Regions from separate parts of the Homo sapiens genome. Here region 1 is linked to region 2. The links are contacts of gene promoters, found by promoter capture Hi-C in human tissues and cell types (Jung and others, 2019). All regions are on one chromosome and are shown on one strand. Each heading gives the region's core, a stretch centred on a gene start or on the middle of the fragment in contact. The rest is flanking DNA. Distances are from core to core; before and after follow the strand shown. Region 1 overlaps UBE4B (ubiquitination factor E4B). Region 2 holds the start of PGD (phosphogluconate dehydrogenase).

The links. The method cuts DNA at HindIII sites, captures the fragments that hold promoters and counts their contacts. A contact is called where the count stands out against the background at its distance.
Region 1: a fragment that was not itself captured here is called in contact with the fragment with the promoter of PGD in region 2 in 1 of the 25 tissues and cell types used here (hippocampus).

Annotation. Positions count from the first base shown.
Region 1 is chr1:10,159,956-10,163,246 of GRCh38, forward strand. It overlaps UBE4B (ubiquitination factor E4B), which reads left to right. Exons shown (of 28, transcript NM_001105562.3): 23 at 1,187-1,331. Among named protein-coding and RNA genes, the nearest start is that of KIF1B, 49 kb to the right of the region's middle. The HindIII fragment of the contact is 4,286 bases long and covers 1-3,291 here.
Region 2 is chr1:10,397,742-10,401,140 of GRCh38, forward strand. It overlaps PGD (phosphogluconate dehydrogenase), which reads left to right and starts at 1,323. Exons shown (of 13, transcript NM_002631.4): 1 at 1,323-1,384; 2 at 1,888-1,963; 3 at 2,652-2,831. The coding sequence starts at 1,377. RefSeq lists an enhancer at 711-1,020 and silencers at 1,501-1,820, 1,913-2,089. The HindIII fragment of the contact is 25,181 bases long and covers 1-3,399 here.

The DNA.
Region 1 (3,291 bases), core at 344-2,843, 240 kb before region 2:
ATTGGAGCGCTTGTCCTGAACTTGCCATGTTCCTGAGATCGAGGCCTCCTGCACTTGTTCACAGGAACTTCTCTTCTCCAGCATGGGCTTACCACCCCGTAGTTGCACAGTTGTAGACCCTGAAGTGTAGCTTCTTTTTTTCTCTACGAATCTGGCATCTCCAGAGTCTAACAGAGGTAGGCCAAGCTATTTCAGTTCACCAGCAAGTTCTCATTATAACACGATCTGCAGAACAGTTCCTTAGATTGGAGGCTTCCAGTTTTAAAGTAAGTTAATATCCCACTTTATCAATATTACAGGTTCCAATTTTTCTTCCATGCGTCAGTCTTTGTGATAAGGAATAACTATATCAGTTGTTTTCTTATCTGTTGTATGTGGTTAATTATTTGCATTTTCTTGGTATATTGGTGAGTATATGCGTTTTTCCTGTTCTAGTCTGGAAGAAGTGTTTTCTCTCCTTAAAAACATTGAGGGAGTGAGCTAGGGGTGTGCTGGTAAGCCTGCTCTGGGAAGCAGGGTGGGGGAGTCAGCATTTGCTGGTTTTCCATGGTGTGACTGTTTCCTCTGTTGCCCAATTTAAGGTGCCAGGGGAATCTGGTTATAAAATTCTGGAATATTTAGCACTTGACTGTCATCAGCCGTGCAAGGTGGCTCCAAATACCACTGGAATGAGCTTATCATAAACAATTTAAAAGAATAACAAAATCCAGGCCAGGTGTGGTGGCTCATCTCTGTAATCCCAACATTTTGAGGGGCTGAGGTGGGAGGAACGCTTGAGCCCAGGAGTTTGAGACCAGCCCTGGCAACATAACAAGTCCCTGTCTCTACAAAAAATACAAAAGCTGGGCGTGGTGGTGTGTGCCTGTAGTTCCAGCTACTTAGGAGGCTGAGGCAGGAAGATTGCTTGAGCCCTGGAGGTCGAGGATGCAGTGAGCTGTGATTGTGCCACTGCATTCCAGGCTGGGCGACAGAGTGAGACCCTGTCTCAAAAAGAAACAAGATTAACATAATCTAAAGAGAAGCTTGGTGGTCCTTGAATTCCATAGTGCCTGACTTGTGCCAGGGTAGCCAGGCTTTTAGGGTGAGATAGTTGCAGTCTGGGTGGAGGTGCTTGTTCCCTGGGATTTGCTGTGGCATTTTGCTTCAGGGAGATGTATGACCATGTACAATATAATTGCCTTTCCAGCTCCGGGAAGCAGTTTGTTCGCTATATAAACATGTTGATAAACGACACGACGTTTTTGCTCGATGAAAGTCTGGAGTCTCTGAAGCGAATCCATGAAGTGCAGGAAGAGATGAAGAACAAAGAACAGTGGGACCAGTTGCCCCGGGTGAGGACGTGGTCCAGAGGCTTGGACAGCTTTGCAGGCCATCTGCCTCCACACACGGGCAGAGCTGCTTTGGGGCTGCATTTGTGGGTCTGATGATATGCGATCTGACATGCTGGGATTTTCCTTCCATGAAATCATATTGCAGGATTGGAATAGGAAAATTCTTAAATACCTTATCTGAAGCTAAGAAATGGGTTGAGAAGTCTTTGAAAATGTACACTGAAAACTTTCTCTGCCTTTTTAATTTTAAAGGGCTTTTTTGGAGATGAGCTTTTATTGTCTGAATATATTAATATTCATGAACATAATTAGGAAAGAAATCTCTAGAATTATGTCTGCTGGACAAGAATTTGATTTGTTCCTATGGGCTTCTCTAGGCAACTGTGTGAATCACTCAGGATCCTGGCGGGGTGTTTTTTCCCTTTCAGTTGATCTTGGGTTTTATATTCAGTTATTAATAGAAAAGAGGCCTGGCTTGCCAGGTTCCATGGAAAGCACGTGCCGTGCCAGTACCAGTGCTCTTTCCTGACGTGCGTAGCAGCCACTGAGATACTTCCTTGGTCGCTTATGAGGCCCTTGACAGTTGCTGGTGACTTCTTAGATTGGCTTAGGTTTATTGATTCTGTTCTTGGAATTGTCAGGCTCAGAATCAGAACTGATTTCCATAAGGGGTTCTCATGTCAAAGTGGGGACTGCTTTTTCTTCACTTTTTCTTTTTTTTTTTTTTTTGAGACGGAGTTTCACTCTTGTCGCCCACGCAGGAGTACAGTGGTGCGATCTCTTCTCACTGCAATCCCCGCTTCTCCGGTTGAAGCGATTTTCGTGCCTCAGCCTTCTGAATAGCTGGGATTACAGGCGCCTGCCACCACACCTGGCTAGTTTTTGTATTTTGTTTGTTTGTTTTTGAGACGGAGTCTTGCTCTTTCACCCATGCTGGAGTGCAGTGGCACGATCTCAGCTCACTGCAATCTTTGCCTCCTGGGTACAAGTGATTCTCCTGCCTCAGCCTCCCAAGTAGTTGGGACTACAGGCACCTGCCACTACGCCTGGCTTATTTTTTGTATTTTTAGTAGAGATGGGGTTTCACCGTGTTAGCCAGGATGGTCTCGATCTCCTGACCTTGTGATCCGCCTTCCTCGGCCTCCCAAAGTGCTGGGATTACAGGCGTGAGCCATTGCACCCGGACAATTTTTGTATTTTTAGTAGTGACGGGGTTTCACCATGTTGGCCAGGCCTGTCTTGGACTCCTGACCTCAGGTGATCCATCCGCCTCAGCCTCCCAAAGTGCTGGGACTACAGGCGTGAGTCACCGCGCCCAGACTTTTTTTTTTTTTTTTTCTTTTTTAATTTCAACTTTTATTTTAGATTCAGGGGATGGGGTACATGTGCAGGTTTGTTACATGGGTATACCGTGATGCTGAGGCTTTATGATTCAGCCTGTCACCCAGGGAGTGAGCATAATACCTAATAGGTAGTTTTCAACCCTCACTCCTCCCTCACTCCCCTCCCTTGTAGTCCCCAGTGTCTGTTATTCCCGTCTCCGTCCATGTGTACCAATGTTTAGCTCCCATTTATACCTGCTTTTCTTCTTATGTATTAAAGTTCTACCCATTCTCTGAGTAAGGTCCTATCCAAATACTCCCTCAGGTTTGTCTTCGCCAATCAGCATAGCTGAAAATTCTCACCTTTCTCCTTACTTCTGTAACACCCACTTTATACCATTCACAGTGCTTGGTATGCCCAGCTTATATTTTATTTACTTATTTGTTTTTTATTATTATTAATAAATAAAGACAGAGTGTTGATCTGTCGCCTTGGCTGGAGTGCACTGGCAGGATCATAGCACACCACAGCCTCAACCTCCTGGACTCAAGTGATCCTCCTGCCTCAGCCTTTGTAGATCCAAAGAGCTGGATCTACAAGCATGTACCACCACGCTTGGCTAATTAAAAAAATTTTT
Region 2 (3,399 bases), core at 73-2,572:
GAAACCCTGTCTCTACTAAAAATAAAAACATTAGCTGGGCATGGTGGCACACACCTGTAGTCCCAGCTACTTGGGAGGCTGAGGCAGGAGAATCGCTTGAACCTGGGAGGTGGAGGTTGCAGTGAGCCCAGATCGCGCCACTGCCCTCCAGCCTGGAGACACAGCCAGACTCCATCTCAACAATGACATCAAAAAAAGGCCGGGCACGGTGGCTCACGCCGGTAATCTCAGCACTTTGGGAGGCCAAGGCGGGCGGATCACGAGGTCAGGAGTTTGAGACCAGCCTGGCCAAGATGGTGAAACCCCATCTCTACTAAAAATACAAAAATTAGCTGGGCGTGGTGGCGGGCGCCTGTAATCCCAGCTACTTGGGAGGCTGAGGCAGGAAAATTGCTTGAACCCGGGAGGCGGAAGGTGCAGTGAGCTGAGATCACACCACTGCATTCCAGCCCGGGCGACAGTGCGAGACTCCGTCTCAAAAAAAACAAAAAAAATCTAAAACTCAAACTTCTGAATAACAATTTCCTCCTAGCAAGAAGGGACTCAGTAAGATAAGAAGCGCTGCTTGGCTACTTTGCAAATGTCTGGCTTAAGATGGCTGGTTTTTTGTATCTGCCTCTGCATTTAACCTGGTCCATCTCGCGGGTCACATAGCCTCTACAAAATGAGAAGGGGTTCAATACCGTTAACTCCGGGCCTGGGTAAAAGACTCAAGTCCTGACCCCATCATACTCCAACCAATACATACCCCGCCTGCGCTGTCTGCGCCTGGGTCTCTTCAACCGCAGTGAGCGGTCGCACGGCTCCACATCAGGGTCGCCCTGAGGCTCAGCCTTCCCCGGCCCCATTCCGAGTGCGCACAGGACTGAACGAGCACGCCCGGTCCCTGCTCCGGAGCGGAGGACACGACGCGGACCCGCACGGTGCACCGCAGTGACCTGAGGAAGGAGCGACGGGCGCTCGCGCCAAAGGCGTCCGAGTGCCTGGTAAACTGTAAAGCGCGGTCCTGCGTGAGTTGCTATGGCTACAGCTGCGCCAGGCGGACGGCCTGCAGGACCGAGGTGCAGCTGGGACGAGCGGAAAGCTCTGCGCGTGGGCGGGGAGCCCGGAGCCTCGCCGGGGCAATGTCATCTAGGTGCTCGGCGCTCCACTGATCCGGCCCCCGGGGGTGGGCGGGCACGTTTGCCTCGGATGGTCTAACAGGCGTCGGGGAGAGCCAATGGTGTGGCTTCATGGCTCCACCCCCTTCCATTCGATTGGCCGGCGCCGAAAAGCCGGGCGTGAGCGGCCGCAGTTTCTGGAGGGAGCCGCTGCGGGTCTTTCCCTCACTCGTCCTCCGCGCGTCGCCGCTCTTCGGTTCTGCTCTGTCCGCCGCCATGGCCCAGTGAGTGACTCGCCAGGGGCAGCCCGGCTCGGCCTCAGCGGGCGGGGAACTCTTTGGGGGTCGAGATCTCCCTCGTTCTCTCCGACGCCTCCCACCCTGGGGGTCGCCTGAGCTCACTTGGGGCTCTGTGACCCTGGCCCTACGGCGTCTCGGGCCCAGAGCTCCTTCCCTGCGGGCCCGGCCCCCTGCCCTCTCGGCCGCGCAGGCATGGGGCGGGGCGGGTCCCTTCGAGGGCCAGGGAGGAGGCGCGGCCAGGCCTCGCCGAGTCTGCAGGGACACCTGCGGGACGCGTGCCAGCGGGAGCCGGGCGCGAGGGCGGGGCTGGGGGCCGCCTGCCCGGCCGAGGCTCTGCAGCGTGCGCGCCCGGCTTCTGGGGGCCCGCGGGAGGCGCGGAGGAAAGTGCAGACTCCCAGTCACGGCCAAATGTGGAAGGACCGGACCCCTGGGTTGCAGCGCGTCGAGCGGTGCTGACTCTTTCCTTTGTTCTGTTTCTGCCTCTCTAGAGCTGACATCGCGCTGATCGGATTGGCCGTCATGGGCCAGAACTTAATTCTGAACATGAATGACCACGGCTTTGTGGTAAGCGGCGTGGGCGCGTTGTCTTCTCTCTGGTTCCCGGGCGCTTTAGCCGAGGCCGGCGATAGGTTTGGGAGCTTACGGGTCTCCTGGCCGTGCTTTGCTAATGTGCTCTGTTGCTGCTCGTGGCATTTTTGTATGGAAAGGAGAAGCACCCTGTAGGCGTGGGCGGGCCGATCCCGAACTTAGTCCTGCGGAGTGTGCCTGTGGGTCCGTGAGGTTCACAGCCCGAATGAACGAATTAGTGTCTTAAGTAGAGAAGAAGGGTGCGGGAGGAGAACCCTTGCTGGCTGTGTAGAGCTCTAACTTGATTGCCTGATGAGATCTGGGGAGAGTGAAAATGTTTCTTCTAAATGTTAAAGTGGCTTAGACGCCAGGATGATCAATAACAACAGATAGAGCCTGTTGAACCGGCCAGTTCCTGGATTTGATTTTGAGTCCTAACACGTTGGGTGTGGATTCTACCTGACACACCGGGGGTAGTTGGCCTTCGCCTCGGTTGTCCGCCGTTTTCATCCTACTGAGGTGACATAACTTTACAGTGAGCCTCCCACAGCTGGGGGAAGAAAAGGCAAAGGCAGGTCTGACCTCCCCAGAACTTGGGTTGAATGGAAAGGTCATTGTTACTTTGGCCACAGTCTGAAAGTCTTGTGTGTCCTGGATCTCCTACTCAGGACTTTTGTCCTTCTAGGTCTGTGCTTTTAATAGGACTGTCTCCAAAGTTGATGATTTCTTGGCCAATGAGGCAAAGGGAACCAAAGTGGTGGGTGCCCAGTCCCTGAAAGAGATGGTCTCCAAGCTGAAGAAGCCCCGGCGGATCATCCTCCTGGTGAAGGCTGGGCAAGCTGTGGATGATTTCATCGAGAAATTGGTGAGGCCAGCTGTGCTCTCAGCTGCTACCACGATAGCAGCTGTTTTTGGTTTCTTCCTTTAGTTCTCCTTCTTTTAACTCTAGAGATTTTTTTTTTTCAATTTCTGCTAAGCTCTGACCAAATGATTGCTTAACTGTTGCAGTGTTGGTTAACTTGATAAGCGCTTATGAAGTAACTTTGTCCTTTGGTGGTAGTAATTCTGAGAATACTAACAGACATTTCAATAAACATTAAGGCGGGGCACAGTGGCTCAGGCCTGTAATCCCAGCACTTTTTGGGAGGCTGGTTCAGATGGATCGTTTGAGCCCAGGAGTTCGAGACCAGCCTGGGCAACATGGCGAAACCCTGTCTCTACATAAAATTAAAAAATTAGCTGGGTATGGTGGTGTAAGCTTATGGTCCCAGCTACAAGCTTATGGTCCCAGGTTCGAGACCAGCCTGGCCAACATGGTGAAACCCCGTCTCTACTAAAAATATAAAAATTAGCTGGGCTTTGTGGCTCATGCCTGTAATCCCAGTTACTCGGGAGGCTGAGGAATGAGAATCACTTGAACCTGGGAGGTGGAG